Linked DNA regions of Homo sapiens: region 1 is linked to region 2. Evidence: promoter capture Hi-C in 16 types of primary human blood cells and fetal thymus (Javierre and others, 2016). All regions are on one chromosome and are shown on one strand. Each heading gives the region's core, a stretch centred on a gene start or on the middle of the fragment in contact. The rest is flanking DNA. Distances are from core to core; before and after follow the strand shown. Region 1 overlaps HSD11B1 (hydroxysteroid 11-beta dehydrogenase 1). Region 2 holds the start of IRF6 (interferon regulatory factor 6).

Region 1 (5,518 bases), core at 583-3,082, 98 kb before region 2:
CAGCACTGGGATGATTTATCCATTTGAACCCCACCAAGTTCCAGAAAATATTTCAGACAGAGGACGATGATCATGAGGGTTATATTAGGCAACACACACACAAACATACTTACCATTTCTTACCTAAACAGGGCTGTGAGCAATCTCTCATTTAAGCCCCCCGTTACTTCAGAGACTACCCCCCAAAAATCTGCAGCTAAGACTGATGCCATTTCTGCTGTATCACTGCAGGTGGTATCCCACTGCCTGGAGCTTGGAGCAGCCTCAGCACACTACATTGCTGGCACCATGGAAGACATGACCTTCGCAGAGCAATTTGTTGCCCAAGCAGGAAAGCTCATGGGTGAGGCTGTTTCTCTTACCTCCTCCTCTGAACTTTGCCCTTGGGGTCACCAAGAGCTTTTGGGAGGAGAATGGGAAAGGTATCAACCCCAGATGATTTCTTAATATAGCCATCTCTTGCAGGAGGACTAGACATGCTCATTCTCAACCACATCACCAACACTTCTTTGAATCTTTTTCATGATGATATTCACCATGTGCGCAAAAGCATGGAAGTCAACTTCCTCAGTTACGTGGTCCTGACTGTAGCTGCCTTGCCCATGCTGAAGCAGAGCAATGGAAGCATTGTTGTCGTCTCCTCTCTGGCTGGTAAGTGGGACAGGGACATATGTGGAAGGTAGAAGAAAAAAAAAAATGCCAGGGATGATGCCAGGCTCTGAAGTAGACATAAATTTTTATCAGTTTCCATGCAGAGAAGTAATGAGGGATTGGTCAAGGTAAGTGGGCTACAAAATTCTTTTAAGTAACAGAGAAAAAGCAGTAGCTCTGAGTGCTCATTGGAAGACTGAATTGTTTTCTACAAAGTAAGGTCAAAGGGACTTGAGGGGCTGCTGGAGGTACAGCCTGTCCTGGTCCTAAGGGAGAGACCTAGTTACAATATTAACTTGAAGTTGAAATGTTCATAGTAATATTAAACAAAAGCTGATTAACAGCTTACTCATATGCATGAATGGGCAGATGTACTGATAAGAGACTTGTAGGGGGGTGATTTGTGGACTCAATGAGAGGCACGCATCCTGAGTAAAGGAGACACTGTTACAAACTAGTGACACCATAAAAAATGAAGGATTGGTCAAGGTAGATGGGCTACAAAATTCTTTTAAGTAGCAGAGAAAAAGCAGTAGTTCAGAGTGCCTATTGGAAGCCTGAATTGTTTTCTACAAAGGAAGGTTGAAGGGACTTGAGAGGCTGCTGGAGGTACAGCTTGTCCTGGTCCTAAGTGAGAGACCTAGTCACAATGGATAAAAAGGACTTTGCTTCCTCCATGACCAAAAGGTTGGTGAAGTTATGTAAATGTGAAGGTACAACTGAGAAGTTAACTGTTTTAACAACACACAGGTGTCTGATAAGTGGGCTAAGCTAAAGCTAAATAAAATGAACAACAAGAAAAAAAAAAAAGATGAACAGACCTGCCTATAGTGGGTGTATTCTCTAAAATTTGAACATGTTAACATGAAAAGATCAATTTAAACAACCAGCTGGGTAGGGAGGAAATGTGTCCAGAGAAATGGTCATGAAAAGATATCTGTGGGATCAAGAGAGGTCCCTGGTGTTCTGGATGGTGGTAGCATCAGAAGCCATCACCAGTAAAAAACCAGTGAGTTCCCAGCTTGGGACATTTCTAGGCCCATTTTTATCATAGATCCAGGAGACAAGTTCCACACATCTTTGTTGATTAGTCAGTTAGAAGGATGTGGCTGGAAAGTGCAAACACCAGGATCAAAATCCGCCATCTAAATGTTGTTCCTGGCAAAATAAAAACAAATAACCTAGAGGACTCTGTAAACTGTTAAGCACTTCACAAACATTCTTATTGAAACTAATAGCACCATCTGTATCGTAAAGAGTTCTCCTTTCTGGCCCAGGGACGGCCTGCATAGTGATTGGATAAAGGGGCAGTGTGTCTGTGCTACCCGCCAAACAGTGTGATTGATATGCATCCCGGTGCTTCCCAGACAACACACACTCCCCACCCCTCCCCAGACACAGACTCTCTCTGGGCTGGAAGAAAGGGAGAGCTTCCAGATGCATACTGAGTGGGAGGGTGCTGGGCACATCCCCAATCCATCCCAGGGCATTGGACAAAATCCTCACATCAGTCATGATGTAGGTGGCTTTAATGATTTCAGCTGATTAAATAATACATTCACTCTAGGCAAAGGATGTATTTCACCTTTGACGAATGTAACTTTCTAGAATGTACCCATGATCTAAATGTGCTCAGAAGGACTAAGAATTACTGTTGAGCCCAAGGACGTGATGAAATTCTGATAATCTCTGTTTCCCCATATCTCCTACACTTATTGAATGACACTTGGTAATTTCCATGAACTCTGGGAGGTAGGAAATCTAGCTGGATGAGTATCTTTGGTGTTTATTGCTTGTGTAGCCAAAAGATTCCAGCTTTTTTGCCTTGAAACCTGTCTATGAACTTGCAAAGTACAGACACATTGCTGTCTTGCCGCAACTGAAGAATATTCTCTGCTTTATGATGTATTCTTTTAATCAGTCAGTAAACATGTTCATTAATCCTTCCTCTTTAAAATCTAAACTCTATAAATATGGGATGCTAAACATCAAGTTGATCTTAAGGTCAGCCAAACAGTACTGGGATGGAGTTTTAATCATTTCTTCTAGGGAATACCTTAAGTTGTTTATTGAGTTTCAGTGATAAAGAATTGTTTTTTCTCCACAATGCATTTCTGGGTATTGCATTACATGGGAATACTATACTTCTAATATGTTCCTTAAAGGCTTGGTTACCTCTGTAGCATTAACAGAGACAATACTGCTGCTTCTGGGAACCTCCTTGTAGTCCACATCTATCCACTATTCACCACCTTTTCTTGGCACCTATTGAGCAAGTTTCTTGTATGTGTAACATCCCGTTACATTGATTAGCCTCCTCTCCTTCCACCACTTGCTAGTTAGGATGTAAGTTCAGCTACTGTAACGAAGACCCGAATTTACAATGGCTTAAGCAAATCTAAATTTATTTATCTCACACAAAACACCCTGGAAAGGCAGTCCAGGGCTGATATGGTAGTTCTGTCCTATGAGGCTGTCCAGGAGGCCTTCTATCTCAGAACCACCATTCCTAGAGTGCTTGTTTACACCTGCATGTCCAAGATGGCTCATTGGCATGTCTGAATTCTAACTCAAGAAAATGAAAAAAGAAGGATACCACCTGGAAGGTGTACACTTTTCTTCTGCCACAGCTGGCTGCAATTGTTATCTTTATTCAAAGGGAACATGTGTCCAACTAAAAATCAGAAGTTCTATTTGTGTAAAAGACACTGATATTGATAAACAACTAGCAATCTCTCCCACATCACCCATGCTAAAAAACACATAAGACTAGAAAAAAGTATACCCTCCAGGCCATCCCACATGTGAAACACACACACACACACACACACACACACACACACACAAAAGACTCATTCCCTCTCACATTCAAGGTCCATCACAAAAAACAAAGTCCTTCCATCCGGCAGTGCGTGCAGGGGACAGTGGGGTAGGAGAAAGAATGGAAAGAGAATACCTAAATAGCATTTGTGAAACAAACCAAAGTAGAAATATTAATACTTGAATATGACTAAAAAAAATCACTGGAGTGGGCAGAGAACATTTGAAAACATCTGGAAAAAAGTTTATCTGACATTAGTCAAAATAGGTCATCTTAGGTTCAATATTAGAAAAGTAAAGTTGGTTTCATTTTCGGGCTCCTGGGCTTGGTGAATCCCATCACTGTGGTGTGTGTCATCAGTTGCACACATGGCAGCTAGAACTGAGCATCTAAGGCCATTTCTCCACCTGCTTTATGCCCCTGAGAGGAATCACGGACAAACCCTGTCTTCCTCTGCTCCTTTCTCCTCTCAAAATCTACTTAGCCCCCTACCTCCTATGAAGTCTTTTTCAGAACTCACCAGAGCCATTTCAATGTTTCTTCTTTGTCTTTATCTACTATATTTTGGTAAGTTAACTTTAGAAATCCAACTTCCTCATCATTTCTCTTTTTTGGGTTTATTGGTAATCCAAATACTACTAATACTACTCATAACTACTAATAACACAAATGTTAAACATACTCGGCAAGCATACGTGTAGGGATAGTAATCCTTCTGGATCAAGGAAAATGCAAGGTATATTTTGAAGTGAAACTGGACATCACAAAAGACTCAGTTGCTTTAAATATTCAAAATGAAAATAGATCAGAAGGAATAAAAGAACCTTGTCAATAACCTTTGAATCAGACTTCTCTTGAGAAGCTCCATAAGTGTCTCCAGTTAACTATTCACTTTTCTCCAAGTAAATCTTCTTAAAAAATCAACTTTCCCTATATATAGATAGTCTTATTCAAATGTATTCCTTTCCTGTTTTACTCATTCGCAGCATTGTTTCATACTGTTTTTTAATGTACGTGTGCAGTCTTTCAGGCACTTTGAGTTGAGTTGACTAGCCGGGGGCAAACATTCATAAGACAGTGCTCTGTGGGAAAACTCAAACCAACAGATGAAGTCACTTGCTGGATCTTAACCTATTTGTCAGTGGAGGTCTGCCTGTGTGGTCTAAATCTATTTCAAAAATTCAACATTATGAAGTGGGGGGAGAAAAACAGGTTTTTCAACTACACATATCAACTAACAGGACTTGGAAGACCTATAATGATGTTTTGCATAGACAAGGATATACAGATGTTAATGTCATCCCTGCCTTCAGTTCTGGCATACCCACTCCTTCCTGAAAGGTGGGCCAATGTTTCAATGTATAGCTGTGCCTCAGGTTATTGGGGGTGGGGGGATCCCAAACTCCAGATTATGAACGGGCCTCAGAACCAGAGTGGAAAGGGGCAATTTATCCCTTGCCACAGTTGTTCTCATTTTTCTAAGAAAAAATGCCGCTTTACCCTTAAATCCAATTACCTCAGAAATAATCTTCAGGAACCAGGATTTCTGAGGTGAGTGGAAGTGTTTATCCATGTGAACGTAAGCATTTACATGAGGGATGGGGAGTGGCGATGGCTGCACAGGGTTGAGCTGTGTGTTGGGGGGATGGGTAGAAGTACGCAGAGGTGAGGTATGTGTTTGTGTAGACGTGTCATCCATAGGGCCTATAAGAATGCCAAGAAGGAGATCAGAGTAAAATCAGCAACCTGGGCATAAAAATTCCAGAAAATTTATTCTATAAAATATAATCATTGTTGTCTAAATTTAAGAGATCGTGTTTGGGCAACACTGTGAGGATTGAGACAGAATCTGCTAGATTTATCTAGGAATTCAGTTCTGCATCAGCCCCAAAAAGAAAGGAGTGGGGGAGATTTGAAAGGGAGGAAGACTCTTTGATGAAGACAGTGACAATTTAGTGCAGGTTGAGAATAATATAATGCTACCCGTAATCATTGTTGCTTCATGTTCTTTTCTGGAAAGGCTCGGCTGAACTTAGGTAGTTGAGG
Region 2 (5,530 bases), core at 2,496-4,995:
GCACTCACAGCAGAAAACAAAAGCCTTCCCAGATTGGGTGACTGATAAAAAAACAGTCACTGGAGAATTGTTTGTCTGAGATGTTGTGTTTGGATTTTTTGGTGTTCTTATTTTGTTTTTACTTAAGATGAGAATGAGATGCCTGGAAAAAGAACACTCATTCAACAAATATTTGTTCATCAGCTACTGTGTGCCAAGCACGGTGTTAGTTACTAAACACTGACGCTCCATGTTCCTTCTTGAGAAACTCCACACTGGAACTTCTCAAGCCCCACAATGGCCTGAGAAGGAGGGGAAGATAAATAGGTCACCTTCATACCCAGAAAGATCCCTACCTGGACCACAGTTCTGAAACCAAACAACCTTACAGCAAAGCAGCTAAATATGGGAATAAACTGTGCCAGGTGGGAAAGAAAAGAGGTTAAAAGGGTCAGCTGAAGGCTCCTACTCAGAAGAGCTTAGCTGACGGGGTGGCCCATAACACCACTTCTCTCCCCAGCCAGACTCCCAACAAATGTGAAAAACCCAAACCCAACTCAGCGTCTGGCACTTTAAGAGCAAGGCAAGACCTGCTCTCACCTGAGCTTTCTGACCCAATTACCAAGTCCTGCAACTGAAACCTTCCCCCTGGGAGCATAGTGGGTAGGTCAGGTTGGCACGCAGTGTTCAAGTACCCCCATGTAGTTGGCCTTGAATTACGGTGTTTTGTAGGGCAGCATGTGAAACCATCAAACCATGGAGTGCATTATAAGCCTTATAAGGAGGAGGGGATGCATATTCTCTCAACGGCTAGTTCTACCTTCTGCTCCCCAGTCCTATCACTACTGAAAGGGGGATGGAGCAAGAGAAGGAAAAAGAGGATAGGGAAATAGGCACCAAACCAGTCAATCTAGTAAAGAGCTTTTGAGAATTTCCATTGCAATACTGGTAAGTGCTGTGTTTGGGCCTGTCAGACATTAAAATCCAACTCTTGACTGATAGTGGACTGGAAGAAAAGTCCAAAAGGACTTATTGTAGTTGATCCAAATCCCACCATGCAAAAATTAAGGCAATCAGGCCAAGACCAGGAGCTGCACCTGATGATGGGAAAGGAGAAGCAGCCACCCACAGAAATCAGTGATTAAGATCTAGAGCCCTGGGTTCTCAGTGTTCTCCTAAGATGGGACTACACAAGAGCAGCCTTGCCTCAGCCCCATGGAAGGAGCCCCAGCCTGCCCTCCTCCAAGCCCATGCCCTGCCTCTCTCACTGTAAACCCTCTCCACCTTCTGAAAGTCAGCCAAGATCTCCCCCACTCACCACCCAGTAACTACAAGTCTAAAAACAGGCAGAGATGGAACAATTGAAAACCCAAATGGCCAAGACAGAAACATTCATTACGTCACAACCACAGGCTGCAATATTAAGTAGCCATTAACAACAGGTGTCAGAATTTGTATTATACTCAAGGAAATGTTTACAATATGAAGTTGTGGGGGCAGGGGGAAACAGCATACAACTTGACTGTGTAGCACTATCTCCATCTTGTAACACAGCATATACTTGCATACATGTGCACATACACACAGAACTGAAAAAAGGAAATAAATACAACAATGCAACAAAATATTTGTAATGGTTATCTAGTGATGCAACTATGGGTGCTTTTTACATTCTCCCATATACATTATATATGATTCATATTTTCCTACAATGATATGTTTCAATTTATAATTTAAAAAACTACAAGTAATTTTTTCTTAACCTCAGGACAATAAGACATTTCTTATGAAGGATGGTAACAACAATCCTTTGTATCTGTGTAGGCTTTACAATTTTTACATGAACCTTTACCTAACATGTCTGATTTCATCCTCATAAACCTGAATGTGATATTACTATCCCCATTTTACATCTGGGCTGAGGTGCTTTATTTCCTAAGTCACAGTGTTCTGTACCAAACCCTGCCACTGCACCTTGTCTTCCATGTCCCTCTCATCTTCTGCGCACCAAGAAAGTAAACTAAAAACATCAACAAAGATCCCAGCAGCATAGAGGGCCAATAAAGTGATTGAGGTGGAGACTGCATAACATCCACTCTCAAACACACCTAAATCAGAGTTCTCTTTCTAAACACTCTTGCCACCCAAATCCCAACGCCTGAAGAACCACCTTAGCCTAGTTGAACTCATCTTGGTATCTCTAGCTGCCATCACAGCAAAATGTAAGGCCTGTGTCTCTAACAGGTACTTAAACAGCCAAAGGACAATGATGCTAACCTATCTATTCCCCTCACAGTGAGCATAGAGGAGGGACACTTTCAGCCTCCTCCGAGCATAACTGTCCTCTCCCATACCCCTATTCTAGGGAGCAGGTCCTCCATAAACACCCTCATTGCCACCTCCATAGCTCCTCCCCAGACTAGTTTCCAGGGGCACTGCCACACAAAAGCCGAGATTTGGCCGTCAGTGGTTTTGCTCAGGTTAAAACACACGCCATTTCTCGCAGACAATTCTTAGCAGTCCCAGCTCTTCCCTTTCTCCTGAAAGAAATGAAATGCCATCGTCTAAGTTCCGTTCCTCAGGCTTCCCTGTTTAGCCCTGCTTAGGGGTAAACTGCAGGCCTCTAGTCAAAATGCCCACACCCTTCCCTTCTGCTGGATGGAAGCTGGGGGATGGCGAATGGGAGTTACAAGGTATTGAGTGCCACTGTCATACATCATACACACGTCTCATCCTAAACCACACTCCTGGGTCAACACCAGCTTTCACCAATCCCACCCAAGCGCCTTCCTCTCTCTATCCATCTCTTTTCCCTGACTTCCACTCTTGACATCCACCAAGAGAACAGGTTGGAACAGGATGACCCCTTTACCACAAAGCAGGCTCCCTGTAAAGAGTGACACCTCAGGCCTCCTTTCCAAGTCAGGCCTGGGAGACTTTCCCCATTCTCCACACCACCCTCCAGCCCCTTCGGGCAAAGAGGGCCCACCCCCAGAGCAACCACACCCCAGCGCCACCCTCCCCAGCACCTAGCTCCGCTCCTTGGAAATCCAAGGTTGTCTCCCAGGCCCAGGGCGAAGGGCCTAACTGTGCCAAACAGACTCAGGGAGGGAAGACAAACCGCCAATGCTCCAAAGCTCCTGGCCACCCTCACTCCAGTTTCCCAAAACGCCCACTAGGATCAAGGACCTGCGGACCTGGGAAGTCCCCTCTCTGGGACACAGGGGCCAGCCGCAAGTTGGTAAGACTGAAGGGGGCGCGGTGCTTTAGCTCTACCGGATAGTGGGGTTGTTGACGGCCGAGAGCAGTGCCCTCCGCTTCGGCGGTGGGGGTAGGGAGAGTAGACACAAGTGTAGATTCGAGAGGGGCCTAGCGCTACAGAACTGAGGCCGCCCCAAAGCTATCTGGAAAAGGGCGACAGGCACCCAGCCCCAGTGGGTACCCACCCCAAACACACAGATGCCCCCAAGCAAGTTCTCTCACCCCCTACAAACTCCGGGGATGGGTCCTACCCCACCCACGGGGGAGCCTCTCCTCCCTCAAGCTGGTCCCCAGAAGTTGGCGTACCCACCTTTGCTCAATCTGTCCACCAGAAGCGGACGTCCCTCCGAACCAAGTCCGCAGCGAAGATCACCCGTCGCTACCACGCTCCTCGACGTCTTAGCCAAGGGGCGCCTGGCTCTACCCAAGTAGGGACTGCAGGTTCCTCTCCCCGTCCCGCACCAGCCCTTACCTGCCCAGCCCAGGTGCGCCGAGCTCACGTCAGCGCCTCGCCCCAGGACGCCGCAGCCTTCGCATCCGCCCGGCCACGCCTCCCAGGTGTGGCCACGCCCCCCGGCGTTCGGGATTGGCGAGTTGCAAGAAATATGACACTCCGCGTTTCTGGGCTGCCCGGCCCAGCGGCGTCCGTCCAGCGTCCCACCCTACTCCTCCGCTTCTAACTCCGGCTAAGAAAGTCCCAGATTCAGGCCTAGCCTTACGGCTCAGGGCTGGTGGTCCTGGGAACTGGAAGCGACTGGGAGTTCAGATCTAAGTCGAGAGGGTGCCTCCCTCCTTCACGGCCCATAATTACCCTGCAGTATGCAGACAGTTAAGCACAAATAAGGGTTTTGAGATTCTGGGTTGGCCCTACTACTCGTGGGCCTGTGTAAGTGGAGTTGCACATGAAGAAGAGAACCAGGACACTTGGTCCTGTCTGGGAGAAGCCATAGGCTTTCAGGACTAGAATTCTACCTTTACTCTGCCTCTTACCCGTGTGACCCTGGGTAAGTTACTTAGCTTCTTGGCTTCTTGGTTTCAGTTTCCTCATCTCTTCAATGAGAATAATAATTCCTTCCTTCTTTTTTGTTGTTGTTTGCTTTTTTCTCTTTCTTTTTTCTTCCTTTTTTTTTTTTTTTTTTTTTGGAGATGGGGTCTTGCTATTAAGTTACACAGTCTGGTCTGCAACACCTGGGCTCAAGGGATCCGCCTCAGCCTCGCAAAGTGCTGGGATTACAGGCACTGGCACCCAGTTCAATTCCTTTTTTTTTTTTTTTTTTTTTTTTTAGGCAGGGTCTGGCTCTGTCATCCAGGCTAGAATGCAGTGGCACAATCATAGCTCAACCTCCTGGGCTCAAGCAATTATCCCACCTCACCCTCCCAAGTAACTGGAAATATAGGCATGGGTCACCATGCCCGGCTAATTTTTTTTTTTTTTTTTTAGAGACAGGGTCTGACTATGTTGCCCAGACTGGAGTTCCTGCTTCCTCTGATCACTATCGTGTAATGAGTAAAAGCATAGCCTCTGGAGCCAACTATTGGGGTTTAGACCCCAACTCCATCAGTTACTACAGACTTGGGAAAGTTTCTTAAGCTTTTTAGGCCCTGGTGTCTTATCTGTAGAAAGAGGTTAGTAATAGTACCTACCTCAGGGGTATTGTGGGAATTCAATAACTACATGTAAACTGCTTGCAACAATATTTAGCACTTATCAAGTGCTTTATATGTACTTGCAATTATTATTGGCATAAAGATTAAAAATACCATATAGACAGTGCGTCAGAGAACAAGAAGGCATTCCTTGTTATTACCTGAAATTCAAGTCCTGCATGTACCCTAACAGGTGCTTGATGAGATTGCCCTCACCTTCCTCATCTATCTAGAGGACCGGTTTGCAGGAGGCTGTGCAACAGTAAATGAGACTTTTAAAAATCCCCCACCCTCAACCACTGAGCTGTCGTAGGTGAAATGGGGCATGCGCAGGTCACTTAGGTTTTGGTGTTTAAAGTAATGAGTGAGAAACTGTGGAGGAGTGGTACAATGAGTTGAACTGTCACCCACATACAAAAAAATTTGTATTTGTATTTTGAAGTCCTGACCACCCCCACTGCAACCACAGCCAGATGTCAGAATATGACCTTATTGGGAGACAGGATCCTTATGGAGGTAATCAAGTTAAAACGTGGTTATTAGGGTGAGCCTGAATCCAATATGAATGGTGTCCTTATAAAAGGAGGAGATTTGGACACAGAGGCAGATACCCACAGAGGGAAGGTGATATGAAGAGACATAA

What was found. Contacts are between HindIII fragments. The CHiCAGO score rates a contact against its expected background, and 5 or more counts as called.
Region 1: a contact is called between a fragment that was not itself captured here and the fragment with the promoter of IRF6 in region 2, in 1 of 17 cell types (neutrophils). The highest score is 6.4, in neutrophils.

What each region holds. Positions count from the first base shown.
Region 1 is chr1:209,706,478-209,711,995 of GRCh38, forward strand. It overlaps HSD11B1 (hydroxysteroid 11-beta dehydrogenase 1), which reads left to right. Exons shown (of 6, transcript NM_005525.4): 3 at 232-343; 4 at 466-651. All of the region lies in intron 1 of HSD11B1-AS1 (HSD11B1 antisense RNA 1), which reads right to left. Among named protein-coding and RNA genes, the nearest start is that of HSD11B1, 4.4 kb to the left of the region's middle. The HindIII fragment of the contact is 7,813 bases long and covers 1-5,518 here.
Region 2 is chr1:209,802,397-209,807,926 of GRCh38, forward strand. IRF6 (interferon regulatory factor 6) reads right to left here and starts at 3,746. Exons shown (of 9, transcript NM_006147.4): 1 at 3,551-3,746. RefSeq lists a silencer at 3,668-4,011. The HindIII fragment of the contact is 4,987 bases long and covers 1-4,829 here.